3 separate regions of the Homo sapiens genome follow, and all the other regions are linked to region 1. The links are contacts of gene promoters, found by promoter capture Hi-C in blood cells and fetal thymus (Javierre and others, 2016). All regions are on one chromosome and are shown on one strand. Each heading gives the region's core, a stretch centred on a gene start or on the middle of the fragment in contact. The rest is flanking DNA. Distances are from core to core; before and after follow the strand shown.

Region 1 (3,113 bases), core at 227-2,726:
AAAAATTACCCGGGAGTGGTGACGGGCGCCTGTAGTCCCAGCTACTCAGGAGGCTGAGGCAGGAGAATGGCGTGAACTGGAGAGGCGGAGCTTGCAGTGAGCCGAGGTCGCGCCACTGCACTCCAGCCTGGGCGACAGAGCAAGACTCTGTCTCAAAAAGAAACAAACAAACAAACAAACAAAAAGAGCAGAATCCTTTCTACAGGGTGGTCAGGGAAGGCCTCAAGGGACCTGAAGGACAGGGAATGCAAAGGAGGCCAGGGCAGCCCTCAAGCTACCACTTCACCATTTAAGAGTGTCTAGGCCAGGTGCGGTGGCTCATCCTGTAATCCCAACACTTTGGGAGGCTGAGGCTGGGCAACATAGGGAGACCCCATCTGCACAAAAAATTAGCCCAGAGTGGTGGGTGCACGCCTGTGGTCCCAGCTACTCCGGAGGCTGACAAGGGAGGATGGCTTAGCCCCGGGAGGTCGAGGTTGCAGTGAGCTGTGACAGAGCCACTGCACTCCAGCCTGGGCAACAGAGCAAGACCCGGTCTCAAAAAAAAAAAAAACAGTGTCTGGCTCCTGGCAGACACGCCCTCCCCTCCAGCCCCTAATGCCTCCCTCCCCAGCAAAACCCGCACCCTCTCCTCTCCATCTGCCACTAAGCAGAGATTAGAATTTCTGACCACTGCGGGATCTTTGGACAGTGACAAAATTTAGTTGGCATAGGTTTTCACCCACAATAGTGCCCATTTCCATGGTGTTTTCATTCATTCTCCTTAGGCTTTAACCAAATTCCGCTAGTAAATTGCAGCTACAGAAAAATAATTTATTTTACCTATTTTAATAAAAAAAAAAAAAAGGACGAAACAGAGGGACCCTCGCGGGGAGCTCTGGAACCCGAGCGGTCAGATAGGGAACACGCCCCAAGCGGATCCCAGGGCTCGGGGGAAGAGGGTGTAACTAAGCCCTCACCTGGCTCTCAGTGGAGCCAGGAACACCGGCTGTGGCGCTGCTTTACGTGCGGAAGACCCCAGGCCGGACCCTCCGCTTCCTAACACCTCTGCCCAGGTGTGCCTTAGGGGAGTTCAGGAGAGGAGGTAACTTTTGTTAGGCGGGATCCGGCAAGACCTTCACAGGCCCGGGTGGGTAGAGACCGCGAGAAGACATAGTCCCGGAGGACGAGGTTTGGGGGACCCGGCACACCGAGGCGGGGACGCCCAGGCCGTGGGTCCTGGTGGGACCACGCCCGCCTCCCGCACTGCGCCTGCGCAGGGCCTGGACGCGCCGGGCCTCCCTCGTGCCTGCGGCGCCGGAGCTTCCCCCAGGGCGGGCGTCCACTGCCCGCCCGGGCCTAACGAGACAAAGGAACGGGCCGCAGCCCCCAGACCCGAGACCCGTCCTAGCTCACCTGCATCTTGTTTCCAGTTCAGTTGCTCAAACCAGCTGTGCCGCAGCGCCCCCGCCCCTCAGCTCTCTTTTGTGCACGCGCACAGCGCCGCCACGCCTCTTCCCCCAGCCCAGCCTTCGCCCCGCCCAGGGACGAGCGGCGGGGAGTAAGGGCGGAAGCAACAGCCTTGAGTCTGCGCCTGCTCTTCAAGGAACTGGCACAGAAGCGTTCGCATGCGCCAGATAGGATCTGCCTACTGTCCTGCTCGGAGTGCACTTGACCTGGTTCTAATTCTGGTGGCTGCCTTATTAGGGCTGGTCTTCAGCGGAGGAGGGGTGGGGCTGGGTGGAGGAGGAGCCCGGGGCCGTGTGCCTTTTCCAGCTGCCGGCCCAAACCTGTAAAGACGTCTCGCTCTGACTAGCCTAACAAGTCAGAAATAGAAAATTGCCTCTAGGCCGGGCGCGGTGGCACACGCCTGTGATCCCAGGCCGAGGCGGGCGGATCACTTGAGGTCAGGAGTTCGAGATCAGCCTGGCCAACATGGTGAAACCCCGTCTCTACTAAAAATACAAAAAAATTAGCCGGGCGTAGTGGTGGTTGCCTGTAATCCCAGCTACTCTGGAGGCTGAGGCAGAAGAATTGCTTGAACGGGGGAGGCGGAGCTTGCAGTGAGCTGAGATCTCTCCACTGCACTCCAGCCTGGGTTACAGAGCGAGACTCCGTCTTAAATAAATAAATAAATAAAAATGATGCAGGGTCTTCTGGAATTCACCCACGATCACTTCAGCCTTGGAAAAGGCAACTCATTAATAAGACATTGAGAGCCTGCTGTGTACCAGGCACCATTCTAGGCTCTGCAGATGCAGCAGTGAGCAAAACACTAAAACAAAGGTGAAAGTCATCTGCCGTGCCTGAGTATCAGGAGACCCATGTATGCAGGCACACAGGCACTGAGCAAAAAGCAGCAATCTGACTTGTAAAATGCAGGTATTGGGCTCCAGAGCTTCTGCCCAGGCACACTCCAAGTTTAAGAGAGCAATATTCCTACCTGGTATGGAAGGAAGCATCTTGCACACGTGGGCTAACTTGCTGCCTCCTGGCAACTAAGCGGACACAGAGAGTAGAGACCCACACACCTGTGAGATAGGCGCAGGGCTTCCAACCGTGGCTATGCATTAGAATCACCTGGAAGCCCTCAAAAACTAGGAATGTCCTGGGGCTCCATCCCCAGACAAATTAAATCCTTGGAAATGAGGCCTAGCACAGATACTTTCTTAAAGATCCTCAGGTGATGCTAAAGTGCACAGTCGTTGATATAGAGTGAATCAAATGATTGCTTGAGAGCAAGGAGTTTTTATTTAATTTATAAGGATCCTTAAGATTTTTCTCACTCATTTCAACTGAATTACAGGCCCTTTTAGGGATTTATTAATGTATCTGGCAGCACAATGTTTGTTAATGAATTTTCCTTGGGTCTTACCACCAAAATCAGGACTGGAACTAACTTTGAGTTTGATCCTGTGCTTCTTGCTCAGTCCTGCACAGCAACAGAGCAGGTGGTGTTTTGTCCTTTCCTCATCCCCAGCCTTTGCTGTTCCCTGAGGCCTGTTTTCCAGGACTCAGCTATTCTACAGTTGCTCTTCCCCACATGATCCGGTCAGAGGCATTCTAACCAAAGCCAATCCATCCTGAATAGGGGATGGGGAAAAGGAGGCTGAGACCTACTGGGTTGTATTCCC
Region 2 (3,113 bases), core at 178-2,677, 1.4 Mb after region 1:
TCGCTTGAACCCGGGAGGTGGAGGTTTCAGTGGGCCGAGATGGGCTGGGCAACAGAGCGAGATTCAGTCTATTAAAAAAAAATGTAGAGCTGATAAAGGGAGGATTGTAACTGTGTATGTGAGAAAACTTACATTGCAATTTTAAATAGGGTTGTTAGGCTAAGCCTCATTAAAAAGGCATCATGTGAGAAAAGATGCAAGAAGCTGTTCTAAGCACCTGAACACGTAAACCAATAAACAGACCTCAGTGAGGATGTGACATTTCAGTTGAACCCCGAAAGATAAGAAAAAATCACACAGAGTGAGAAAAAGTGAAAACAAAGGGATGTCCAAAAATCCCTGACTGCCAGCTTATTGATTTACAAAGAGAACTATAGACCATCTATCAGATATTCAGATGAGCCTGTGCAATTATTCACTGTAGGTCTGGTGACAAGCCAACTCTTAAGTTTGCTTGGTGAATACATAATCAGAAAAGGACTGAGTTACATGATATGAACGTCTGACGGAATGGGCTCTGGGGAAGACACTTCCTTAACTCAGGAGAGCCCCTGCTCTTAAGCCGGGATACCCTCTCTCCCCTAGAGAAGGCGTGGATTCATCTGGCACAGGTGTGCCCCTCTTTTTTTATTCTATGCTCCAGTAGCGGATCAGACCCCGACTGAGTAATGCACGGTATTTCAGGATATTTCACAGTCGTTGGGATAGTGTCAAGCCTTTGAAGTTCTGGTTAAATTTTGTTCCTTCAAAATCACTTTGAATCTTTCTACTCTCACCCTTTAATGACTAATTTTTTGAAGTTTTTCCTCGGAAGACTTCCTTACCTTCCATGTTCTTGGGACACTTCGCTACCTCTGCACTGCCAAACACGGCTCCCCATCACTGAACTGAAAGCGAAAACAGCACAATCCCATCTATCTTTCTAGGCAGGCGCAGCTTCTTCATAAGACCTCGCCAAGACCCTATTATTTTGTCCCCTCTCTAATGATATACAACTTACTCAGAATCTCATTACGGTCGTGTGCATGTTTTACTTCGCCCTTTTGGCTCCCAGGGGGCGTGCACACAGCTAGCGTCCAACATGTTTTACGATATTTACCCTCCCTCCTGTGTTCGGGATCAACCGTTCCTAACAGTGAAATTAGGTCGTCCCAAGTGCTGAGGAGAAAGTGTGCACACAAGAGGCTTCAACACCGGCGGAGGCGACCCGCAAGTCCTGACCCACCGCCAGAAACACCGCGCGCGCCCAAGACCCCACGGCCGCCCACGCGCTACGGCCCGCAACATCCCGGTTTGAAGCGTTTCCGCTTCACCCACCTGCGGCTTCCGGTCGTACCCACGGCCTCGTGAGGGCTCGAGCTGGAAAAGTGCGTCATACGACCCCGAGCAACCGGCAGGCCTTGCGCGCGATGCTGCCCCGCCCCCTGAGGGCCGGCCCCCTGAAGCGCAAGAGAAGGAGGGGCGCGCAGGGATCGCGCCTAGTCTCTCCGCCTGCGGAGCCGTGGGGTCCCGGCAGCCCGCAGGAGTGCTAAGTAAGGGTCCTTCAGGGCGGGAACCAGGTTCCAGGCAGGGACGCAGGCTACGTTCGAATAAAAGTACCGAAGGTCATAAGGCCCCAGTTCAGATGGGACTTCCCCGCGTGACAGCACAGAGATAACGGCCAGCCCTGGGCGAAGGTAGGAGAGCGGGCGTGCCAGGTTGGAGGGGTCATTTCGTGGAGCGAGTTTAGGGGGAGCCCCCAGAAGCCCAGAGCAGTCAGGTCACACGACGGGCAGGAAGGAGTACCAGCAAATACTTTTTATTGAGCATACAGGTATTACGCTGGGTCTTTACATATCTCCTCCAAATAAGTGAGTCCAAATGGCAGGTAACTCGAAAGGTGAGAAATTCAAGTCAGCTTTGAAAGACACATTGCATTTAAAGGAAAAACGGTATTCGCAGATGATAATACAGGATGGAGTGGATCAGAAAACACACTGAGGCTACTGATCATTCCCATTTGCCAACTCACTGCAGTTGGCAAGAAAACTCTGTGACTCCATGAGATGGGAAATTACACCAGCAGTCAAGGTAGCAAGGTAATAGTTTCGGCTAAGTTTTGCTGCATAACAAACTGCCTCAAATAGTGGTTTATATCTCTAACGTGGGCAAGGTGGGTGATTCTTCTGCTAGTTTCTCCTGGGCATATTCATGTGGCTTCATTCAGCACAGGTTGGCTACGCTGGGCGGTCCAAGATAGCCTTATTCATGCTCTGGCAGGTGCTGCCTGGCTGCTAGGGCATCTCAATTCAGGCCTAATCTTGGAAGCAGCGCCTCAGCCATATTCTATTGGCCAAAACAACAACAAAGCCAGCCCAGAGTTAAGGCGTGGGGTAATGGACTTCACCTCTTGATGAAAGAAGCCCAAAGAATTTGTGGTCACCTTTTTCAACCTTGCACAGAAATTAATCTCTCCTTCAGTTAAAATAGAAACCACTAAGACTTGCCTCTTGGAGTAAGAATCATTCAGTGTTCAGTTTGCTGATGCTGATACGGTAAATGACCAGGGCTTCATATAAAGCTACAATGAAGACATAATGACACCTCCTTTCTTTATTATCACACCTTTTACCAAGGTCACTCTGAGTAAGTCTATCTTGTATTATGCAGGTGGGAATGAATTTTGTTCAGAGTTAACTGCACTAGGAATTTTCCTAGTTATTATTAAAAACAGTCACAGAATATTGTTGCTCTTTGCTTATATTACTTCCTTCTAAATTCCCTTTCTCTGAAATCTGAGATGGTACAACTTTGGTTTTTTTTCCTAGTTTCTTGATGAAGAGGTTTTAAAGAATCCCATTCCCTCCTCCCTGCTCCAGGACTTCTGTCCCTTGGTTATTCTTACCTTTACCTACTTCTTCAGCTTCTCCACTGGAACCTTTCAAGTGACACTCAAACATGCTGTACTCTTTAACAATCCTCCAGTGACCTCATTTCTCTTTCCACTTGTCATCCTGTCTGCTACCCTTCTGAGCCAAGCTTCTTGGAAAAACTGCTATACATCCAGTATCTACTTTCTCACTTCCCATTCATTGTTTCAACGTACTCCAAAATGGCTTTTCCCCATTATTCCA
Region 3 (3,113 bases), core at 330-2,829, 1.1 Mb after region 1:
GTTAAAATTATGGGCAGGCACGGTGGCTCACGCCTATAATCCTAGCACTTTAGGATGCCAAGGCTGGTGGATTACCTGAGGTCAGGACTTCCAGACCAGCCTGGCCAACATGGTGAAACCCCCTCTCTACTAAAAATACAAAAATTAGCCGGGCATGGTGGCGCATGCCTGTAATCCCAGCTACTCGGGAGGCTGAGGTGGGAGAATCACTTGAACCTGGGAGGCGGAGGTTGCAGTGAGCCGAGATCGCGCCATTGCACTCCAGCCTGGGCAAAAGAGCAAAACTTCGTCTCAAAAGAAAAGAAAAGAAAAGAAAGCAATTACGCAATTTGTTTTAAATTATGACGTCTTTGAAAAGTATGCAATCTAAATTCGTTGGATTAGCGACGAGAATACTGAAGTTGAAGTGCATTTATAGAAGTCTATAAAATGGCAAAAAACTGAAAGGGAAAGAAATGAGCTATTTGAGTATTCTCTGTGTTGCTAGTAAACAAGTTCCAACTCTGCAAATCAGTTTTCAAAAGAATACTGATTGTTTCCTAAGTACCTGCAAACTCTGAAGCATTTTAGGCAAGGGAATGAGTGGGAAAAAAGTATCTTCATGTTTGTGCATTACAACAATAAAGACTATTATGTAACAATGTGGAGTCTTCAAAGCGACCCTGCCAAGAGGGAGAAAGTGGTCCTTATGGACGGATTGTTTTCTGCTAGAAGGCCCTCAATTAGAATTGTACTTACGCATACATAATATAGGATATTATTTTTATATTCATAGAAAACTGCTTTCTCGGGTAACTCCAGCGCTGTACATGGGATGGGATACCGGCCCTCCGTTTACAAATACTCAGGCGCAATGCTGCCCGGGCACTCAAAGGACAGAAGATAGTGTCTGTGCCCTGCGGGAGCAGGCCACGAATCCCGAAAACGCCGTGGCGCAGTGCTCCTTCCCGCGAACCTGAGTGGGCCGTGGTTCTCGGTTGCTCTGGACATAGGAAAATGTCAGTTCATGTGTGTCCCTTTCTCCACTAGATGTCACTGTAAATCAATTGCTTAAGGAGGGAACCCGGGCGTCTGGCGCATCTTCACACAGTACCGGGGTTTGAAGCCCGGTCAGTGTCTGCACTTGTGTCCTTCCCCACTGGGGAGCCCCAAGGCGGGGCAGGCGCGGGGACTCGCTGTGCACGGAGCGGCGCGCTGTCCGAATGGCAACCGAAGAGCCGCGACCCGGTCAACGAAGCGCGGGGGTGACCGGAGCAGGACGGGCGGGCAGGCGGCGCAGTGCGTGGGCGGGCCCGCGCTGCGCTCCCCTCCGCCCAGCTAGCGAGACGGTCACGTGCCGCCCAGGCGCTGCCCCTTGCGGGCGGCTGCAGAACAACAGGGCGGGGCCGGGGAGGGGAGGAACACGGAGGCCGACGCCGGGCGCCGCGGTGCTACGCCCGAGGCTGGGGTCGCCCCGGGCCGGGGGGAGCAGAGCGCGTGCGCCGCGCGGCTGTGAGCGCGAGCGGGGCCGGGGAGCGCGCGCGGAACGCTAGGGGGCGTGGCTGCGGCGCGCGCGCTAACCGGAGGGGGAGGGGCGGAGAGCCACCGCGGAGCGCGCGCGGGGTTGGTTGCCGCGAGCGTGGGGGAGCGTGGACCGCGGCGCTGCTCAGCGGTGGGGCTGCCTTCCCCCGGCCCTCCTCCCTGGTCCCTGGCGAGGGCACTGGCGGCGGCGGGGCCGGGGTCCGCAAGGCCGGAGAAGGCCGCCGGGCCCGGGCATGGTGGTCTGGGGCAACGCGGAAGGTGAGCGACCCCCGGGCCGGCGGCGGGGTGGGGGAGGGGCGGGATCGGACACGCGTCGCCCGGAGGCGCCGCAGACCCGCCCGGCAGCGGCCAGAGCGCGGTCGGCCTGAGGTGGCGCGGGGGAGGGGTGCGTCGCCCCGGCCCCGGCCCGCGGCCGTCCTGTCGCGGCCTGGGCTGTCCACGGCGCCTTCCCCTGACGCTCGCAGCCGCCGGGTTATGTAATGTGTGACCTCCCCTCCCCTTCCCTTCCGTCATGGCGCGGCCGGCCCCGCGCCGCCGCCAGCCCCATGGGCCGCCCCGCGCCGACCCCTGGCGCAGCGGCCCTTCCCTCCGCGCCCGGCCGCATCCCGCCGGCCCGGTCAGACCGCGCCGCAAACTCCTTCCTCCTGCGCCGGCGCCTCGGCCGGCCATTCAGTTCCGCGCCATTCATTCACGCGCGCGTTCGGGCGTTCGTTCCACAAGCGTTTGTAGAATGTCGACCCGGTCGAGCCGCCGCTCCCACCCGCACTCCAGCCACAGCGTTTTTCCGCACCCCGCCTTCGACGTCCCCGGTGCATCCCAGAACCGGTCGGAATGTCCGAAGGCGGTTGTTGCTCCCTTGTTTTTCCTTGCTGCTTGTCCGTTCGCTAAATACGCTGGGCGCCGTTCCCCAACTGTCCTTCCGAGAGCCCCTTGCCCACTTCTGTACTGTTACAGTGACGCCGCTCTGGGCGCACCGAGCCGCGCTGTGTTTCGCTGCTCTTCCTACCTATTCTCAGTTTGTAAAGAAATAATCTCACATAACACTCCTTAATGTACTCCTCCGTAAGATAAATTGCAGATAATATACGTCTGCTAATTCTCTTTATCTCCACGTCTTCTCACGCCATGTACTAAGTAGAAATGGTTTCATTTAGGTGAAAATAATGCAGACTAGCACATAGCACAACAAGGGCTTGTAACTATTAAGGACTTTATGTAACAGTCTGTAATTCTGTGTATCTGTCTGGTCTTTCCGGACTTGGCACTTTAGTCTCCGAGAATAAGCCATTTCCTGTTTAGGTAGGGTAGGACCAACCATAACCTTGGTTCTTTCTATGGAGTTCTGTATGTAGCAAATCAGCCTGTGGGAACCATCTATCTGTCCACCAACCTTTCACACATATTCTTGGGTTTGCCCGTGCAGGGACCAGTGCTGCGTATTGTTCCCTGCCTTCCTGTACTGGACACTTAAGAGCTCACCTAAAGTTCCTCTTCCAGGAATCATTCTCCAGTATACAAGGCTCTCTTCCATTCAATTCTTAGGCTATTTGCGCCTTTTCCTGTGTTGCGTTTATCTTTTTAGCCCTGTCTTC

Evidence for each region. Contacts are between HindIII fragments. The CHiCAGO score rates a contact against its expected background, and 5 or more counts as called.
Region 2: a contact is called between the fragment with the promoter of TSGA10 here and the fragment with the promoter of PDCL3 in region 1, in 1 of 17 cell types (monocytes). The highest score is 5.6, in monocytes.
Region 3: a contact is called between the fragment with the promoter of REV1 here and the fragment with the promoter of PDCL3 in region 1, in 2 of 17 cell types (neutrophils and monocytes). The highest score is 8.3, in neutrophils.

The regions. Positions count from the first base shown.
Region 1 is chr2:100,561,356-100,564,468 of GRCh38, reverse strand. It overlaps PDCL3 (phosducin like 3), which reads right to left and starts at 1,476. Exons shown (of 6, transcript NM_024065.5): 1 at 1,396-1,476. The coding sequence starts at 1,401. RefSeq lists a silencer at 1,150-1,489 and an enhancer at 1,935-2,731. The HindIII fragment of the contact is 6,473 bases long and covers 1-3,113 here.
Region 2 is chr2:99,153,256-99,156,368 of GRCh38, reverse strand. TSGA10 (testis specific 10) reads left to right here and starts at 1,427. Exons shown (of 21, transcript NM_025244.4): 1 at 1,427-1,676. It overlaps LIPT1 (lipoyltransferase 1), which reads right to left and starts at 1,402. Exons shown (of 2, transcript NM_145199.3): 1 at 1,318-1,402. RefSeq lists enhancers at 825-874, 905-984, 1,065-1,264, 1,295-1,524, 1,585-1,784 and 1 more. The HindIII fragment of the contact is 4,304 bases long and covers 1-3,020 here.
Region 3 is chr2:99,488,483-99,491,595 of GRCh38, reverse strand. REV1 (REV1 DNA directed polymerase) reads left to right here and starts at 1,579. Exons shown (of 23, transcript NM_016316.4): 1 at 1,579-1,779. RefSeq lists an enhancer at 756-1,641 and silencers at 1,075-1,744, 1,855-1,954, 2,025-2,104. The HindIII fragment of the contact is 11,070 bases long and covers 1-3,113 here.